Regions from separate parts of the Homo sapiens genome. Here region 2 is linked to region 1. Evidence: promoter capture Hi-C in 16 types of primary human blood cells and fetal thymus (Javierre and others, 2016). All regions are on one chromosome and are shown on one strand. Each heading gives the region's core, a stretch centred on a gene start or on the middle of the fragment in contact. The rest is flanking DNA. Distances are from core to core; before and after follow the strand shown.

Region 1 (2,907 bases), core at 211-2,710:
TCCAGACCCCTTCTGAGCCTAATCTTGCCTCTGACCAACCCAGGAAGGAAAGATTCCTTGGAGGTTAAGAACCCAGGGAGAAGGAAATTCTTGCATCAAGGAACACAGAATAATAGCAATGATCCATTCCAAAGAAAGGCACCCTAGTTCCAATGACTTTGGGCTCTGAAATTGGACTTGTCCTGCGTTCTCATCCCAGTTTCTCTCTCTCAAGCTGTGTGCCCTTGAAGAAGCCACCCTCAATGTTCCCAGGCCTCCACTTTGTCATCTGAAAACAAATTTTTCTTAATGACATGAGTAGTAATACTGTACAAGGGCCAAGGCTGTTTTGTTCTCTATTGTATCGCAGCATCAGGGACAGTGCCTGGCACTTAGTAGGTAGGCCCTGAGTGCTGTTGTTTGAATGGAGAGCCAGTTGTGCCCCAGGGCAGGTGCTGCAGGCTGCAACTCCAGCTCAGTGAATTCAATCCTCTGAGCCCTTTCAGCATCACGGTGTTGATTCTTCAAAGGATGGATGAAAGATTTGAAGGGGAATTTCCCAGCTGAAAGGATTGAAAAAGAGTGAAGTGAAATTTCTTTCTCTTTCTTTCTTTCTTTTTTTTTTTTTTTTTTGAGACAAGGTTTTGCTCTGTCTCCCAGGCTCGAATCTAGTTGCTTGATCATGGCTGACTGCAGCCTCAAACTCCTGTGCTCAAGAGATCCTCCCACCTCAGACTCCAGAGTACCTGGGGCTACAAGCATGTGCTACCACGCCTGGCTAATTAAAAAAAAAATTTTTTTTTTGTAGAGATGGGGTCTCACAATATTGTTGCCCAGCTCGTCTCAAACTCCTGGGCTCAAGTGATTCTTCCGCCTCGGCCTCCCAAAGTGCTGGGATGACAGGCATGAACCACCGCGCCTAGTCGAAATTTCTTGTCTTGACCAAGTGAAGTCAAAGTAAGCTCCTAAGGCTGTTTCCTCATCTGTAAAATAGGGATAATAAGCGTAACTCACAGAGCTGGTCGCTCTGGGGAGTAAATGCGATAACGTCTGTGACGTGCTTGCTTGGAACCGGACCTGGCACACAGTAAGTGCTCAATAAACGTTCATTCAAGGTGAGGAGTGGGGACGGCTTGGAGGAGCCCGGGGTCCTCCCAGCAGCCTGGGGGAGTCGGGTCCAGCTCTCTGCCGCCGGGAGGGGCGTGGCCAACCCAGAGGGACGTGGTCCAGGCTTCAAGGCTGGACCAATGGGGGCGCCGAAGGGCGTGGCCCTACCCGGCATGGGCGTGACCTCGTTGGGTGGGAGGGGCCAGGCGCTGTGGGAGCCTCCGGGAAGAAGATGCTCGGGCCAGCAGCCACCGCCAGCCCCGTCGCCGCCGCCGCCCGCGCCCGCCGCCCCCCGGGCCCCCACTAGCGGCCGCCTCCGCCTCCCACTCCGGCCACGCTCCTCCGGCCCCCCACCCCGAGCAGGGTCTGGGGGGCTCGGCCCTCTTGCCCCAGGGAGCCAAGAAGAAGCGGGGAGTCCCGTCCCCCCAGTGGCGCGTCCAGTCCCCAGCCTCTGTGGTCCCAGGAGAGACCCCACCTCTCAGTTCTTTCCCGGCCCTATCGGAGACCCCCCTCGGCCCTGCCATCCTGCTCACGGCCGCTCTCCAGGCTCTGTCAGCCCCCCGAGAACCGGCTCCCCCCTACCCCCGCCTTCCCTCTCCGGGGCTCCCCCTCCCCCATCCCTCCACCGCCCCCTCCCCCTCCCACCTCCCCTCCCCTCCCCCTCCCCCGCCCCCCGCCCCCCGCCCCCCCCCACCATGAGGATGATGGCCGCCGGCGCGGTGCACGGCCTCTTCACGGCCTCCGCGGCCCCGCAGCCGCCGCCGCCCCCGCCGCCGCCGCCGCCGCAACCCCAGCCTCCCCAGCAGCCGTCGCCGCCGCCACAGCAGCCGCCGCCGCCGCCGCCGCAGCCGCCGCAGCAGCAGCAGCCGCCGCCCCAGGCCCCCCCCATGGAGCCCGAGGCCCCGGATTCCCGCAAGAGGCCCCTCGAAACGCCCCCCGAGGTGGTCTGCACCAAGCGCAGCAACACGGGAGGTGAGAAAGGGCTGCGGCTCGGGGCGGGGGAGCGGGCAGGGGGCCTCGCCTTTCTCCATCCTTTCCCCCCCTCCCGTGGCAGGTGCAAGGGCTCTGGGGAGGGGAGAGACACCCCTCCCCGAGGCGGGGGACAGAGCGGGGAGTTGAGGAGGGGGCTGGACCCCCTCCTCCTCTCGCTGAGGCCCGGGGCTGGGAGCTTTGTCTGCGAGGAGAGGGGTGGGGGGGAGGGGGTGATAAGTGTCCTTGGGGGGCGCAGAAGATGGGGGGCGTGGGAGCCTCAGGGCAGGTGTCTGTGTGTCCTTGAGGGGTGTGTGATGTGACCCTTTCGGAGCAGGGGTGTTCCCCGAGCTCGCGTGTCCTGGCTGGGGGAGGGGAAGGAGTAGAGGCCTGTGGACCGGGAGCTTCCCAGCCTCCCTCCCTGGGGATGTCCTGAACAAGGGTTGTCCCAGATGGAGGCTTGTGTGGCCCTGGCCGGATCGTGCGTGGGGACAGGCTGGGTAGGTGTGTGGGGTGAAATGGAGGAAATGGTGGGTGTGTAAAGCTAGGTGGGAGAATGTGAGGCTAGGACAGGTGTGTATGTGTGTGCGTGTGTGTGTATGTGTGCCCTCTACAGCCTGGATGTGTGACATTAGGGATCAGGAATATGACAGCATAGGGGGGTGTATGAGAAAGACAGGGGACAGGGGCTGGGCTCCATGTTTGAGACCCTCCAGCGGGTACGTGTGACAAGGAAAGGTGTGTGCTTGTCACCCCCAAGGGGGCTGTGGCAGAGTGTGACACATGAGAGGGTGTGTGTGACATGCAAGGAGGTGTGTGGGGGACACCGAATGGGCTGGCTCTGGGTGTCAG
Region 2 (2,907 bases), core at 154-2,653, 45 kb after region 1:
AAAAAAAAAAGTGTAAAAATGTCCCATGCAATATGTGGGCAATACGTATGCTACAATATGAATTGTTGCTTATCTAAAATTCAAATGAAACTGGGCATCCTGTATTTTACCTGGCAACCTTAGGTGGAGGAAAACAAAAAGAAATCTGAGGGGCAACAAAAAAAGCCAGGAGAACTGGTTAAAGGAGCCGAGGCGTCCACCATCTGGAATCCCAACTGGGGCATGCCCAGCTTACTGCCCGTAACTCCTGTATCCCTTTCCTCTCTGCCCTTCTGTCACCCTTCTCTGTCCCTCTGTGCCCCCCATCTCTCTGTCCCCTCTCTATGTTCCTCCATCCTCCCTCCCTCTGTCCCTCTGCTCCCCATCCTGTCCCTCTGTCCCCCCTGTCCCTCTGTCTCCCTCTCTCTGTCCTTCTGTCTCCTTCTCTCTGTTCATCCTCCCCCTCTCTGTCTTTCTGTCCCCCTCCTCTGCCCCTCCTCTCTGTCCCTCTGCCCCCCACCTCTGTCTCCCCTCTGTCCCCTCTCTCAGCCCCTGGATCCCTCCCTCTCTCTGCCCCTAGTTTCTCAGTCTCCACTTTCCCTGCCTCACACGCTCCCTGCTTTCTGTCCCTACGTTTCCCTCTCTTTTTTCGTTGGTGTCCCTGTTTTGCAGTCCTTCTGTCCCTCCCGCCACCCCCAACTCCTCTTAGTTCCTCAGTCAGTCACTACTCCTGGAATCTGCCTCACACATTAAAACCAGTTGAGTCACTGTTCTCACTCCTACCAAGCTGTCAAGTGGGGGCTGGTTTTGGGGGACAAGGCCTCAGGGGCAAGTGATGGAGAATGGGAAACACTTTCAGGGGCACTACCCCCTCCGCAGTCAGAGCTGATGAAGCTTTGGGCTGGGAATAGGTGCTGGGACAAAGAGACGTTCTGCCAGGCAAATGCTCGCTGCCACCAAAATCAGAGAGTCTAGCAAGTCAGAGATTTCTCCAAAGTCCCCTCCATTCTCCTGCCTTCAACTGCCATGCCTTCAGAGAAGTCTGTTCTCTAAAGAGGCCTCTCCGGCCGGGCGCGGTGGCTCACACCTGTAATCCCGGCACTTTGGGAGGCCGAGGTGGGCGGATCACCTGAGGTCAGGAGTTCGAGACCAGCCTGGCCAACATGGTGAAACCCCGTCTCTACTAATAATACAAAAATTAGCCAGGCGAGATGGCAGATGCTTGTAATCCCAGCTACTCGGGAGGCTGAGGCAGGAGAATTGCTGAACCCGGAGGTGGAGGTTGCAGTGAGGGGAGATTGCGCCACTACACTCCAGCCTGGGCGACAGACCGAGAGTCCGTCCCTAAATAAATAAATAAATAAATATTTAAAATGAGGCCTCTCAACCAACACCTTCACGCCAGCATTCTGGTGAGGTCTCCGTGTCCCTGTTTCTGGCCCACCTGCCCTTGCCTCTCACTCCTCTCTGCCTGTTATCTTCCGTATTTCTCTGAGTGTCTGTCTAACCAGGTCTTCCTTCTCCCATTGATTTTTTTTCCTGCATCTCCACCCCACTTCTGCAGAATTGTCTTTCTCCTTGTCTCTTCGCAGGGATGGGGTCTCTGTGTGTCTCCCTGAATCACTTTCCCTGTCTCTGTCCGTGTCTGCATCTATTTCTCCCTGTCTGTGTACCCATCGTTGCTCAGAGGCGCGAACAGAATTCACTTGGGACAGTGTAAGCAAAAAGGACTTATTAAGGGACACAGAGCCTCTCAGAAGAAACAGAATCTAGGCTGAGCCTCCAGGGCATTCTCAAATCCAGCGCTCAGAAAGGGCCGTCCAGGAACCGCTGCTCCTCCTGCGCGATCAGGAAGCCGCCAGCCGGCTCCACCGCCGCAGCCTCTCGCCGGGATCTGCACTGGCCTTCGGGCTGCCTCTCGCCCAGCTTACTTCGGTAAGAAATTCAAGCTTCCCGCGGAGGCACCTGATTGGTGGAACCTAACCTCCGGCCACATGCGCAGCCACAAGGCATTCTGGGAAACGTAGTTTTGAGCCCTCCAGCCGCTGCAGTCGCAGGAAGGTGCGCTAGGAGAGTGGAATAGATGTTGAGAGGCGCCACACCTCCTCCACGTGGTTGCACGCCCTCTCTCTCTGTCCATCTCTGTTTTTACGTGCATGTATAATCTCACTTGCTGTCTTCGTGTGTGTTCTGTCTCCTTGGTTTGATTTTCCCCCCCATCTTTTTCACTCTCCAGAATTTGTTTTTGTTTTTGTTTAGTTTGAGACAGAGTCTCGCTCTGTCGCCCAGACTGGGGTGCAATGGCGCGATCTCGGCTCAGTGCAACCTCCGCGATTCTCCTGCCTCAGCCTCCCGAGTAGCTGGGACTACAGGCACCCACCACCACGCCCGGCTAATTTTTGTATTTTTAGTAGAGATGGGGTTTTGCCACGTTGGCCAGGCTGGTCTCGAACTCCCGACCTCAGGTGATCCACCTGCCTCGGCCTCCCAAAGTGCTGGCATTACAGGCGAGCCACCGTGCCTGGCCCCCACGCTCGTTTTATTTCAATTCTTCCATCTCTATGGCCTTCTCTGTCCTTTTTCTTGGTCACCACCTGTATGACCAGTGCCAATTCTCATAGCCCCCTGCCTCACCATTATCCTCATCCTCAGTTCCAACCTTACTATCGGGGATCTCCCTCTTGACCTTCACCCCACTCTCAGCTGAACCAGAAGCTCAGATCCCTAAGGAAGAAGAGGAGGGAGAGGTAAGACATGGGTGTCCCGTAGTTCCACAGACAAGCCAGGAACAGGACCCATGCTTTGGCATTTCTCAGCTGCTCTCCCTGCAGGTGGAAAGATCAAGCACCTCCAGGTAGGCAACGTGAACCGAAAGAGACCGGTGAGTTACTGGCTAGAGTTGGAGTGGCCACAGTGGGGGATTATGGT

The links. The method cuts DNA at HindIII sites, captures the fragments that hold promoters and counts their contacts. A CHiCAGO score of 5 or more calls a contact.
Region 2: a contact is called between a fragment that was not itself captured here and the fragment with the promoter of NOVA2 in region 1, in 1 of 17 cell types (endothelial precursors). The highest score is 5.5, in endothelial precursors.

What each region holds. Positions count from the first base shown.
Region 1 is chr19:45,972,418-45,975,324 of GRCh38, reverse strand. It overlaps NOVA2 (NOVA alternative splicing regulator 2), which reads left to right and starts at 1,460. Exons shown (of 4, transcript NM_002516.4): 1 at 1,460-2,058. The coding sequence starts at 1,974. RefSeq lists a silencer at 1,135-1,294. The HindIII fragment of the contact is 31,968 bases long and covers 1-2,907 here.
Region 2 is chr19:45,926,935-45,929,841 of GRCh38, reverse strand. No RefSeq gene overlaps it. Among named protein-coding and RNA genes, the nearest start is that of NANOS2, 14 kb to the right of the region's middle. RefSeq lists enhancers at 2,001-2,070, 2,376-2,876. The HindIII fragment of the contact is 1,055 bases long and covers 876-1,930 here.